3 separate regions of the Homo sapiens genome follow, and regions 2 and 3 are each linked to region 1. The links are contacts of gene promoters, found by promoter capture Hi-C in human tissues and cell types (Jung and others, 2019). All regions are on one chromosome and are shown on one strand. Each heading gives the region's core, a stretch centred on a gene start or on the middle of the fragment in contact. The rest is flanking DNA. Distances are from core to core; before and after follow the strand shown.

The links. The method cuts DNA at HindIII sites, captures the fragments that hold promoters and counts their contacts. A contact is called where the count stands out against the background at its distance.
Region 2: a fragment that was not itself captured here is called in contact with the fragment with the promoter of PLCXD3 in region 1 in 2 of the 25 tissues and cell types used here (heart right ventricle and pancreas).
Region 3: a fragment that was not itself captured here is called in contact with the fragment with the promoter of PLCXD3 in region 1 in 3 of the 25 tissues and cell types used here (adrenal gland, dorsolateral prefrontal cortex and hippocampus).

The regions. Positions count from the first base shown.
Region 1 is chr5:41,507,787-41,512,530 of GRCh38, forward strand. PLCXD3 (phosphatidylinositol specific phospholipase C X domain containing 3) reads right to left here and starts at 2,815. Exons shown (of 3, transcript NM_001005473.3): 1 at 2,638-2,815. The coding sequence starts at 2,740. RefSeq lists an enhancer at 2,341-3,169. The HindIII fragment of the contact is 4,804 bases long and covers 1,038-4,744 here.
Region 2 is chr5:41,448,191-41,452,934 of GRCh38, forward strand. The region is part of intron 1 of PLCXD3 (phosphatidylinositol specific phospholipase C X domain containing 3); the gene reads right to left. Among named protein-coding and RNA genes, the nearest start is that of PLCXD3, 60 kb to the right of the region's middle. The HindIII fragment of the contact is 3,578 bases long and covers 396-3,973 here.
Region 3 is chr5:41,553,696-41,558,439 of GRCh38, forward strand. No RefSeq gene overlaps it. Among named protein-coding and RNA genes, the nearest start is that of PLCXD3, 45 kb to the left of the region's middle. The HindIII fragment of the contact is 4,338 bases long and covers 1-4,182 here.

The DNA.
Region 1 (4,744 bases), core at 1,565-4,064:
AGATAATTACTTAATTTGAGCTGTAGCAACTGGCCAAGTAAACATGTAGCAGCCAGGAAGCTATTAGCATGATTTTAAGGCAATTATTCCATTAGTGTTTAATAGTCTCCAATTAGTCTTCTCTGACTATCAAAGTTTGAATATCTTTTTTTCCTCCAAAAATTCTTAGTGCTGAGTAATGCAAAAAGGTGCCAAACCTGTTTTTAAACCTGGTTTTTTATATATGTGGATCTTCCAAACAAATTTACAGAAACATGCGAGTATTCAGGAGTATAGATTTGATGAAAAATGTTGGTCTATTTTTTCTCACAAGTATTGGAGTGAGAAGGGGAAGCTTTACAGGAGATCCATTTGAGTATAATACCAACAGGAGCTGGGAAAACAATATAAATTCCCATGGAAGCCCAATGTCATCATCTTTATGTCTGTACTCTAAGATCACCCAGATACCAAAATCTCTCACCTCAGGTTTTTATTTTGTCCCAGGGCAGGAAAGGAAAATTACTGTGTTCCCACTAATGCTTAGTTCCTTTTTTCTTAACCCTGGTTAGTCACAGTTGCTGCTGAATCATCCAGATACAAATCACAAAGCCTTTCCCTCCAAAATTCATAGGGTATCTTCCCAAAGGTCCAAGTAAGGGGTCAGATCCCTGAACTGATAGGGATAAATAGTAAGTCATTTGTCTTCACTTAGCTTCAGTTTTTTCATCTGTGACATGGAGGTAATAGTGCCAGCACTCCCTGCTTCATGGGGTTTTAGAAGGATTTTGTGAGCTGGTGTACATAACAGGGCTTTGAAAAGTGAAATATTACAGAAATGTAAGGTAGACTCAAAAAGATATCATACCATCTCAGAACTAGATAAACAAACATAGGCTTTTAATCCTGTAGCTCTAGAGAGTCACCTGCCAGAAGGTTTGCATCACAGTGATTGCCCTTCTTACCTTCTATGCATATAAAAACATTCAGGGGAAACCATGTGAAAGAAGCTGTCTAAAATCCAAATAAAAATGAAGGAAGAAAAGGAATGGGAATGCCTGTGGAAGTGAGAATGGAGTTATGCCAAAGTTGTGCTTTCTACTGTCTCCTTGAAAAGAGCAATCTCCAGGCTTGCCTAGGTAGCAGAATAAGTGCTGCATGGAGAAGCTGGGGTTGGTTCTTTTCCTTGGAGATTCCTGGCCGGTAGCAAGCTATCTGTTGAAGAAGGACGAAAGGAGACAGCCCCTTCTGTGGATAGCACTTGTAGTAGCCTGTGCCTGCCATTGCTGCCAAACATCCACTTGACTAACAACCATTGATTTGAGGGACTGATCAATGGCAGCACTCTTGGTTGGAGCATCTAGTGATTTTCAAAATAACCCTTCTTTTGTTTTTGTTTTTGTTGTTTTTTTCTTTATTATGTTTTCCTCCAACAGCTGAGAGGGGGCGCTGGATGGGGCAGATCAAGAGGAGGTAGACCATAACGTTGAGTTTAATAGCCCAGCTCAGCTCAGGGCCAGAAGTGAACTGTTCATGAGTAATTTGCCCTCCAGCCCAGCTCTGAAAAGATCAAGTGTGTGCTCCCCCAGCCCAACTGCATAGCCAAATTGACAATAAAGTATGGCCGTGTCCCAGCTGTCATTGTTGTAAACTGTCCTGAAACGACCCTCACTCCTGGATACCTGATCTAGGGGGTTGTTAGGAGCTGCCACCCTAGAAACCTGCCCAGTCTCTGGTCCAAGTCGCACACATCAAGCTGAAGCTTCTTGATCCCTCAGGTCTCTTCCTCGCTTTGTCCACGCTTCTTTCCTTCTAGACTGTCTGGACACATTCTCAGTCACCTTTTCCGTACTATTTGCCTATTAATCCCACCCCTCCGCTCAGGTCACGCAGGTTCCCCTGCCCAGCTTCTGTCCCGAGCAGTAAACATACGGTCCGCAAGGGTTTGCTTTTTTGACCTGGGCGAAGTGTGTTGCCAACACGCACTTGGACCAGACTCGAGACAGCGGCCACTCGGCCAGGTCCCCCGGGGTCCAAACCGATACGAAATGGTGCCCTCTGCCCGTCGCCCCCTTGGGCTCCTTTTCAAGGGCAGCTATCACGCCGCCTCTGGTCCCTGAACTTTCATCACTCTTCGGGAAGCGCTTTGTCTTTTTAAAGGAGATTGGGGACGAATATTAATGACTGTAGCCGAGAATCTATCAAATCCGCCCAATTCCATGCCAGGGATAGACTCAGGTCCTTGCACCGAAGGCGAGCCCCTGACACTAGCTCGCGTTCTTCACACACGGTCACCCCGCAGACCCAGAGATTTCTCCCACTTCCCCAAATCTGCAGGAGAAACCATAGGAGGGGGTCACGAGGCACCATCCTGGAGCCCAGCTTCTCCTCTGCCCCAGTCCTCCGCATACAACCTGCTTCAAAAGCCCAGGAGAAAAGCAGTCACCTTGACTCTAGCGCCTCGGTCCTTAGGGGTTTGGAAAACGCCAGGAAGCCCAAGGCTACCCGGCACGCGCTCGCCTGGCCTGAGACCCACCCTGGAAGACGAGTTTCCCTCCCGCGGGCATCGTGGCAAGTTACCACTTAGTGGCAGATAAAGCAGGGCGGGGCAGGTGGAGCGGGCGCCGAGCGCCTAGCCCGCAGCCCCTGCGCGCCTACCTGGAATGGCTAAATTGGTGAGGGGGATGCTGTGCATGCTCTCCGGCAGAGTTGCCATCCAGTCGGCTAATTTCAGCTCGTTTTTCCCCTGAGACGAGGCCATCGTGCCAGTCGGCGTGCAGCGCGCTGGTCCCAGCACTCCTCGGGCAGGCTGGCAGGCTGCTGCCGCTAATCCAATGTTTGCTCTAGCCCCGCTAGAGTTTACACTCCTCTCTGCGCCACACCCACAGGATGGCGCAGACACATGCTAATTTTAATAATTATTCAAAACACCCCGTGCTCCCTTAGTGCCTCCGCCAGACTCCGCTGGAGCTTTTGTTCCTGACGTCCGTGCTCAGCTCTCTCCGCTCTCCCCTCCCTCCCCAACCCCCTCCTCCCGTCTTATCCTTCCTAGGCGTCTCTGCCTTTCCTCGCCATTCTGCAGCTTTCCCTGGTTTCTTATTTTTCTTTTCTATTCATTTTTTTCCAACTGCTTTGCCCATGGCTTGCTCGATCCTTTGCTGTGACTTTCTCGTCCTGTTTGTATGAAAGACAGTCTTGCACTTGAACCTAAAATCCTAGCAGACTTTGGGATGTTATTGCCTCCTGAGGAACAGACTTCTCATGCTGGGTTTCAGGGCTTTCCGTCCTTATCAAAGAGCTTTCCTTTTTGTAATCTACAACAGGTTATACCTTTCCTCAGCCAGAGACCACAACCCTGTTTATTAAAAAATGATTATCTTTATTCACTCTTTTGCCTACTTTGTGAAATAGCTGGTAAGTATGAGTCAGTGAAGGGCATGGTAAATTCTAGGTGGTTCCTACTTAATCCTGGGTACCTTGCTCCAGACATTTCAAAGTCAAGAAATGCTACTCCCCCTTCTTTTCTCAGATCATGAGAAGTCTACATTATTTCCATGGAGAACACTGCCTCTGTCCTGTCAGTTTCATGGCACTCAGGGTAAGACTGGAGCCTTATGCTGGAAGAAAATCGCCACATCTCCCAGTGACATGCTCTAATTATTGCCAGTAGCATTTGGTGGAATGTATTTGGCACCATTCAAAGTGATCTATGTGACTGTCTGCATTTTCATTCCTTTGCAGACTGGAAAGATGTGCCTCTCTCAAGAGAAATCACTCACTGGGCCTCCAAAGAACTGTCTGGGTCCACCTGCTCTCAGATGAGTAAAAGGAGAGAGATGAAGTTTTACAAATGTAATGAGAGCAGCAGTGGCCTGAATAGGAATTATAAGAGATGAACTGAAAGTGTGCTGGGCTTTTGCAACCCAGGAAATGGAAATGCAATAAACAGACCTCTGTTCTTTCATGCCAGGGTTGTGTAAATTTTTATTTTTCTATGGGAAATGCTATTAGATTGCGGAAATGACAATCAACATAGGAGACAAAGAGAGCCATGAAACATGAGAATAATTATTCAAGGTTAGTAAATCCATTTAATCCCAAATAGCATTAAAAAATAAGAAAAAACCTAGAGCCTACCTTATTTTCTACAATGATGCTAAGTCCTAAGAATATTCACCCCCAAATGGGGAGCACTATGGGAAAGATAGAGGAGAGGCAACGCCTTATTTTGGTTATCAAATTTTCCATGCCCCTTGTAAAATAAATTCATACCTTCAAGAGGACATGGTACAGTTATCTTTAGTGATGAGGAAGAGATATACTGAAAATTTTCCCCAAATAAATCTTAATATACATGCTAGTACAATAGAACCCACATATCCTTTTAATTAGGATGATAGTTTAGCTTACTATAGGACTCTTGGTCAAGAGATCTACAAACACCACCCTTCTGTAAGAAACCTACAAACACCACCTAATGCTGGTGGTCTCAGGGCATGATTGCAAGGCAATGAGGAAAATTCAAATCTAGTGGTCAGCTGCTCTGTCTCTGAGTAGTTTGGGCAAGTCCTCTAGTCTCTGCTAGCCCCAGTTTTCTCCATTATAAAGTGGTAATAAGAACTCAGAGATTTGTGGTGAAGCTTCCAGAAGAGAGTGCATACATGTTTAAGATAACAGGATATGTGTATTTACCACTCTTTGTCTTTTCTATACTTATGAAGTATTTTTTTCAAAAGCATGAAATAATTATTGAATCTGGGGTACA
Region 2 (4,744 bases), core at 935-3,434, 60 kb before region 1:
TGGGACCTGAACCCCACCTCTCCCATCATTCCTGGATCCTGCAGAGTTGATACAAACCAGAAACCCAGTTGACTTCAGCATGCTGAGAAGGATGAAAAAGCCACCTGCTCTTGAATAGGAGATGTCTGAGGCCAAGCTCAAGGCAGATTTACTTGGGCTGAAGCCATCTTTCTTCCCACATCCCAAACTGGCATCTAGCCAATATGGCAATCATCTGAAAAATGCCTCGGAAATTGGTGCCAATTAGGTTTTCCAAAAGTAACTAAGAAAATTGATAGAATTAGAGAGCAAAATAAATCTTACAAAATACCTCTTGTATTGTAAAATCATATAGAACTAGCATACTGGTTGCATGTAGCCTGCCTTAACTCTTTTTGGAAAAGTTAGCAAATAAATAAATACATAATTTATCTAAAACGGAACAACTCAATTCTCCTTTCTAACTTTCCTAACTTCTCAATCATACAAGTTTTGAGTCATCCTTTTCTTCTTTCCCTACCTCTTTTTTCACCAAGTAACAAAATCTAATGTATGCCTTTAAATAGAGGAGAAGCTCAGTATAGTTAATGAATGGATGAGTGAAATAAATGAATGCTATTACTGTGTTTAAAACCCAACAACAAAGAAAGATAATACTCACTTCCCAAACTTCTTAGTATGACATTTATAATCTTCTTAACCTTGGTCCAATACATGTACATACACATTTTTAACTTCTCTTCTCCCCTAAAAGAATCTTCCATTTCAGTCAGACCCAAATGCTAAACATGCACACCTTTCCCTTTCTGCACCTGCAAAACTTTCTGTACCCACACTATGGTTCCTTGCCCATGATTTTTCCAGAAAACTTTCTATATCCATGACTTCACTGGACTCCTACGATATATATAGTCTCTATTTTCACATTACATTTCACCATTTACTCCTTGGCATTTCTGTATATTATTTTATCTATTATCATTTAACTTTGTAATGAATGTTCTCATTCTCCTCAAAAGTACAATCTAATATTCTTTCAAATAGAAAAAGATATTACACTCACTGATATCCTCATAGCAATTTGCATTAATGCATTTTATACCAAAGCTCAGAAAAAAATTTTAATGAATGACTAAACAAGATTGATTTTGCTGAGAATGTAAAGCTGAAATTGTAAAGTATAGCTTAGAGCATAGTCAGTGGTCAAATTTCATAATAACTTTCTAATTTTCTAAACTATACAGACTTTTCTACCATTTTCGGTGACACCATAGATTTTCACATTCAAAAATTGAAATGCATTCTCTCTGTGTGTAGCTTAATTTTTATTGCCCAAAAGCAGACTATGAGACTAAGATTTTAGTGCAAGTAGTTTATTTGAAAGGTGATCATAAAAGGACCATAGAGGAGGTGGGCAGTGAGATAGGGAAGGGAAAAAGCCAGTGTAAAGTACACTGATAAGCAGAATAACATTGTGAGAAGTGGGGTTCCATCCTACTGGGAATACCTAGGACATACTATAGGAGTGCCTCAGAGTTATCTCACCTGGAGATTGAGGAGACTGGGATATTCATCTACCAATTTCCTGTTACTGGTTAAGGCCCTTTTCTGCCCTTACTCTCCAACCACAGGACCTTGCATTAAAAAGCCATTGGTGGGCATAGGAATGGGGGGCGAGGAAGGGCATATAAGCAGTACACTAATAGTGTCTGCTATATCTTAAAGCATAAATATTGAAGACACCACCTATTACCTCCCCTAACAGGTAGATGGGGAGGTATACTGAATACCATTATAATTTTAATGCTAAAGAAGACATCAATGGCTTTCTCTGGAGTAGTACACAAGAGAACAGCAATACAGTAAATACATCTACACACTGGAAACAAACTGAAAGAAAAAGTGATTCTGTCCTATGAAGCTCTATTCCTTGTTCTATCTTCAAAGCTGCCCTTGGTTTTGGCTTGATTTCACCAGAAACAAGATCATGAGGAGCCTGGTGAAAGTAAGAAGGAAGAACAGAACTGGGAGGGTGCTGTATAAAGACTGATACAAGAAGAGTGGAAAACCTGCTGATTTTCTTGCAAGTCTGAATTGATAGGAAACTAACATTCACAGCATCTTAGACACAAAAGCTTCCAGCCAGGTGATAGTTATTTTATCTCTAAACAAGCTTCTCTGCTCTGTTTTTCAAAGGTCTCCAAGATAAAGGACATGGATTTTAATTAGCAAGTTTCAATTGACAGAGAATTAAAATTTAATGTTCTATTCATCAATAGTTTAAGGATGAAGTTTCCCAGTAGTGCCTGGGAAATGTGGCTGTCAGAGCTGCTTACAGTTTACAAATACTTTACAAAACTTACAATGCTGATAGAAGCAGCTTGAAAGTTTCCTCCAAGTACACCTGAATTTAGGTCTCTCTAGTAGTAAAGAAAGAGGCAAGCTTACTCTTTTCCAATTTCACTCTCATCTTCCCAAGAACACTTTACTTGTTAAGACTGTCTGTGGAAGTTTCTTATCAGTGACACATTTTCTAAATGCAGGTCTCCTAAGTCCCCGGGCTGCCTCAGATACCACCTGCAGGTCCTTCTCCATGATGTATATAGTGAGGGGTCACACAACCCCATTCTCTCCTCTACATTCAAGGGATTCTATACGCAGAGATGGACAAAAGAGAAGTAGGAAAGGGGAAAAGAAGGAGATGGATTGCAGCACAGATAATGGGAATAATGGAAGCAGAAAAAAAGGAGGAAGAGGAATAGGAGGCTGATTATCAAAGTTGGAGGTTGAGCTTCCTGCTATCTCTATGCCTAACTGAGAAGACACTGGAGTGTCATGCTGTATCTTCATCTCTGGTTTGGAGGAGTTCTCCAAGCCAGGAGCAGTTTCCCCTGGTGTATGTGTCAGAGGAAATAAATGGATTCTGGGAAAACAATGTTCTTTTGGTACATATTGAACAATTTTTACTCTAGAGTGGACTCTTCAAAAAATACCAAAGGTTCAAGGGCTTCATACACCTCAACGTAACCTGAGACATCTTAGTCAAAAGCAGAAATGGACAAGTAAATTTGTCTTTTCTTTTTTGACTCCTGAAGTACAAAAGTAGAATGTTTTATAAGCCAGTGAATTTCCTGCTACCAGGAATGTTTGGAATATTTGTCATAAGATGGTATTTGAGGAATATTTTAAAAGATCTCTGCTTGAGGAGGGAGATGGGATTCTATTTACAATTCAACTCGATAGACATTTAAGTGCCTCTGATTGCAAAAGTGAACACAAAGCTGTTGCTGATGTCAACAAGGCAACACTCTAGCAGAAAAGATGGGTATAGATGACTGTGGTAACAAAAGTGTTATGCCTAAATGTATATGCAGAGAGGAAAAGCATTGACTTTTCAAGAATATTTAAAAGCAGCCCCAAAGAGAAATAGAGTGATTATTTTGTCTGGTAGATCTGAGATCTTTCCTCTCTCTTTTTTTTTTTTATGTTGGATGTCCACCCCTAATCCTTGGTCTCAGCAAAGAACATGATGAACTCACCTACTGAAAGACATTGAAGGGAAACTGGACCCTAAGAACTAGCTCTCCATGAGGTTCTTCCTTTCTTCACATTTGTCACTTTTTTGCTAGCCTTCAGAGAGCAATTTTCTTTAAACAATATAATCAGCTGATTCACTGAGCAGTAAGAGAAAATATCATCTTCTTGTTGGATTGGAGGCTTCCCAAGGCCTACTTGACCCTTGGAGTGTAATATTTACCCAATTCTCAAATGAGGGGAATTTTGTGTGCATGTTGAGAAACAGGTATCTTGATTGCCATACTTTCAGCTAAGTCTTGTTTTCTGCTCAAGGGATTGCTTTCCTTACTGAAATAAAATCAAGGACCCCAAGGTATTGGTGCCAGAAGGAGGAGCTTCATGGTGAAAGCAGACTGAACAGCCCTGATTCTGTCTCCCAAATTTGCTCCTTCTTTGCTATCCTCACCTTTCAAATTTAGCTGATGTTGTCTGCTCTTAAATTGCTTGTATAAGTTTGGATCAGACCATCTTCTTTTCATTCTCCTTAGTCCTATACCATCAGGATTTCAAATGTGCAGAACCTTACTGAATACTAAGGAATGGCAAAGGGGAACTGATTCAAGAAAAATCTGTATACATAAAGGAATACTAGTTAGATTTTCACAAATTTTGAAGGAATGTTTCAAAAGGAATGTTTGAAGTGATCTAAACTTTATAAGCAGAGACTATAAGGCTTTCATCCAGGGAAGCCCCTAAAATGAACAGTCAATGATCCCTCAGAGCAGGTGCAACTTGGTACCAGAGACCTATGTGCGTGCTGTTAAGTAGGCATACCTTAGACTCCAAACAAAACAAAACAAACAACAAAAGTGTAAAAATTCTGTCAAATATGACCTCCAAATGAAAAATCACAAAAGCAGATGCAAAGGCAGGGCTACAATACACTCAAGTTGCCCCTCTGCACCCATGAGCATTTCTGTATAATCTACTTCAAGGTCAGTGTGGGCAGAGACATATTTACTTGAACAATGGTTAATGATTTTTTTGTGCAATGCTGGCAAGCTCAGCTAGTATCAGAAATTTGAAAGCATTTCCATTTAAAAGAACACACTTCTGAGGCTCCCATAGCTAACTCTAGTCTCAAAAACGGTACCACATTCCATTATCTTTCTTTCTTGTTTTTCTTCGTTTTATTTTTAATTTACAAATAAAAATTGTGTATATTTGTGAGGTACAATGTGATGTTTTA
Region 3 (4,744 bases), core at 764-3,263, 45 kb after region 1:
GGGTGGGAGGAGGGAAAGGATCAGAAAAAATAACTATTAGGTACTAGGTGACAAAATAATCTGTGCAACGAACACCTGTGACACAAGTTTAGTATATAATAAACCTGCACATGTACCCCTAGACCTGAAATTAAAGTTAAAAAAGAAGTTGGAAGGAAAATAAAATCAGCAGAAAATTTAAATGGTTGATTTTTTTAGAGTACAGAGAATATGTGGGGATGCAGGGGGAGTGGCTATTAAATGTCTGGTACCGTTAAAAAATTATAAAAATAAAAATTTATTTAAAAAGAGAAAATATTCCAGTAGAAAGGATGAATAATTATAGTATTTTCTCATGATGCAAATTTGGCTTCTATTCATTTATTTAATAAAAAGGTATTTATTGTATAGTTTGGCAGTTTGTAGAACTATATATTAAAAGGAACCCCAAAGGGTGAGAAACCAAATTAACAAACCTAACATGAATGATATATCCTGAATATATGTCCCCACCAAATCTGACGTTGAATTGTAATCCCCAGAATTAGAGGTGGGGCCTGTTGGGAGTTGTTTGGATCGGGGGGAAGAACTCTCATGAATGGCTTAGCACCATCCCCTTGGTGATGAGTGAGTTCATGCAAGATCTGGTCATTCAAAAGTGTGTGACACCTACCATTCTCTCTCTCTTTTGCTTCTGTTCTGGCCCTGTGATAAGCCTGCTCCCGGTTCACCTTATGATATGAGTAAAAGCTCCCAGAGGCCTCCTTAGAAGCTGAGCAGATGCCAGTGCCATGCTTGTATGGCCTGCAGAAGCATGAGCCAATTAAACCTCCTTTGTTTATAAATTACCCAGTCTCAGTTATCCCTTTATAGCAATGCAAGGATGGCCTACTGCAATGAAGGCCATTCTTCCATTGCTATATGTATACCTTATTAGAATAAGAAGCTATAGATAAGATAACTAGCCAGAAGACAGAAGCAGATAAGCCCACGTACTCATAGAGGAGGGAGGAAGTCTGGTTTCACAGTGAGTGATGGTATAAAGCCCACCTTCATCCATTCCAAGGCAGAAGACTGCCATGGTGTCTGGCAGAGAAGGGCCCATGAAACACCTGGAAAAAACCTGATGAGGGACATGTTCTTAGTTTGGGACTGAGTGTAGGGTGTTCTATCCAACTTTGCCTGGGCTCAAGGAGCAGCAGCTTTCTCAACAAAAGGAGATGTGTTTACCAACACATACTCTTCAGCAAGATTAACTGTTCTGCAGGGAATGCATAGCACTGATGATCACATTCCTCATTCTTCCAGGAAATAGGGCTAAAAGTATATGTGTGTAGGACTGTGAGGTGAAGCTGAAATTCAAGCACTGACCCCAGAAAAAAAAACTTCAGTGGATTAGCAGGGTTCCCTCCATACTGTCATTGTTTCTTTCCCGGGATGATGATCTAGAACCAAGGTTGGAGTCCTGAAGCATTTTCAACCACTGGCTTCTGCTCCTTTTCTCTCCATTCAATCTCCATTCTCATACCAAGGAGACAAGAAAGTCATTCAGTATGGATAAACATCTCCTCTAGAATACATTTCTGGGTTGTTAAGAGAAGTTATGAAGCTTTAAGTGACTTTGAAAAAATGCAAAATATTATACAGATCTTAGTTAATTTTTCCACTTCACAGCTTAATAGAAGGTTTTTCCTTCTCTTTTAAATTGGTCATGGAGTCAGTCTGTAAAAAGTTCACTGATCATTTTATAGAGAAATAGGAGAGCAAACTGGTTAATGACTCGCTCACGGTCTTACACAGAGATAAGGGTAGAATCGAAGTCTCTTGATTTCTGAACCACTTTTTTGTGCCCTACTCAATATTTGGCTGCCAATATTATAATTGCTAATATCTCCATAACACTGGAGCATCAGCTTATACCTGTACGAGAAGCTTCAGTGGTCTTCTGCCTCCAGGCAAATTGCTATCAAATCTTCTTAAGATCTTAAAATCTTTATAGAGGCTCTGAAAGAAAGGTAACCTGATATAATGGAATGGCCACAAATTTCAGTCAGGCAGCTATTTAGAATCCAAGCTGTCACTCACTAACTCTGTGTCTCAGAGCAAATAACTAAGCTTCTGGGATCCTCAGTTTTTTATTTATAAAATGAGGATAGTAATACACCAAAGACTTGGATTTCTTAAATTAACATTATTTCTAATTGAAACATTAAAATTGAATATATTTAATGGGATACTATTTGATATTTTGCTATATGTATACACTGTGTAATGATTCAATGAAGCCAGTTAACATATCTATCACTTTGCTTACCTATCATTTTTTATGGTGAGACATTTGAAATTTATTTTTTTCATTGTGTTTGTTAGTTTGTTTTTTTGAGACAGAGTCTTGCTCTGTCGCCCAGGCTGGAGTGCAGTGGAGCAGTGGTGCAATCTCGGCTCACTGCAAGCTCCGCCTCCCGGGTTCACGCCATTCTCCTGCCTCAGCCTCCCGAGTAGCTGGGACTGCAGGGGCCCACCACCACGCCCGGCTAATTTTTTGTATTTTTAGTAGAGACGGGCTTTCACTGTGTTAGCCAGGATGGTCTCAATCTCCTGCCCTCCTGATCCGCCAGCCTCGGCCTCCCAAAGTGCTGGGATTACAGGCGTGAGCCACCGTGCCTGGCCTTTTCATTGTTTCAAAATATACATTATTACACGATAGTCATCCTGCCATGCAATAGTTCCCAAAGCTTATTTTTCCTGTCCATCTGAGACTTTGTATCCTTTGATCAGCCACTCCCTATCCCCTCCCTCCCTATTGCCCCTCCTCCCAGCCTCTGGTAACCATTATTCTATTTTCTACTTCTGTGAATTCAACTTTTTAATATTTCACATGAGTGAGATCATTCAGCATTTGTCTTTCTGTGCCTGGTTTGTTTCACTTAGCCTAATGTCTTCCAGGTCATTAATGTTGTCTACAAAATGACAGGAATTTCTTCTTTTTAAAGGCTTAGTACATTGTGTATATGTACCACATTTTCTTTATTCATTTATCACTGATAGATGCTGCAATGGACATGGAAGAGCAGATATCCTTTTAATATATTAATTTCAGTTGCCATGGATATGTATTCACAAGTAGGATTACTGGATCATATGGCAACTTGATTTTTAATTTTTGGAGAAACCTGCGTACTGTTTTCCATAATGGCTGTACTCATTTACATTCCCACTAACAATGTACCATAGTTCCCTTTTCTCTTCATTCTTCTCAACACTTTTCTTTTGTCTTTTTGATAAAGGCCATACTAACAGGTGTGAGTTCAGATCTTATTGCTGCATTGCTTTGATAATTGGTGGTGCTGAGCATTTTTTTCATGTACCTGCTATACCATTTGTATGCTTTCCTTTGAGAAATGTCTGTTCAGTTTCTTTACCCATTTTTTAATTGGGTTATTTGTTTTCTTACTATTGAGTTGTTTGAATTATCTGTTTTGAATATTAACCATTTATCAGATGTATGGTTTGCAAATATTTTCTCCCATTCTGTGGATTATCTCTTTATTTTGTTAATCATTTCCTTTGCTGTGCAGAAGGCTTTTAGTTTGATGCCATGCCATTTTTCTACTGTTGTTCTGTTGCCTGTGCTTTTGGAGTCATATTGAAAATGTCCTTGTCCAGACTAACATTGTGGAGCTGTCCTCTTACGCTTTCTTCTGGTAGCTTTACAGTTTCAGGTGTTATATGTAAGTCTTTAATTAATTTTGAATTGTATTTCTGTATATGGCATGAGATAAGAATCCAATTTTATTATTCTGCATGTGGATGTCCAGTTTTTCAACACCACTTATTGAAGAGACCATCCATTCCCCATTGTGTGTTCTTGGCACCTTTTTCAAAAATCACTTGACCTTTAATGATCTTACATATAAGAAAACCCTGACGACTCTACCAGAGGACTGTTAGAACTGATAAACCAGAGGACCTTTAGAACTAATAAACAAATTCAGTAAATGTACAGGATACAAAATCAATCAACATAACAAAAATTAGTAGCATTTCTATATATTAATAATAAAGTATCCAAATAGGAAATCTCATTTACCATAGCATCAATAACAAAAATACTTAGGTATAAATTTAACCAAGGAGATGAAAGACCTATATACTGAAAACTATAAACATTCATGAAAAAAATTGAAGAAAACACAAATAAATGAAAATATATCCCATGTTCATTGATTAGAAGAAAATGTTGAAACTACCAAAGTGATCTACATATTCAATACAATCCCAATCTAAATTGTAATGTCATTTTTCACAGAAATAGAAAAAAATCCTTAAATATATATGTAACCACAAAGACAGACCTCAATAACCAAAGTAATGTTAAGCAGAAAGAATAAAGCTGGACGGTTTATACTCTTTAATTTCACACTGTCTGATTTCAATTCTAATCAAAACAGTATGGTACTGGCATAAAAACAGACATTTCAACTAATGGAACAGGATAGAAAGCCCAGAAATAAACCAAAGCCTTGTTTTGATAATTAATTATGATGCTGTATATAGAGTGTAAGAGGTAGAGAATAAATAACTGCTGATTAATAATTATTATTATTATCAAAAGAAAGTTGCAAAATGAAGTGGCACTTAAGTTGATAAAGAGGTAAGATGAAGTTATGAACTGAAAGGTTAAAAAACAAACAAAACCCTGGATACAAATAGATATGTATATTTGATAGTGAATGGGTAACTGGAGGCTACTTTGGCTAAAATA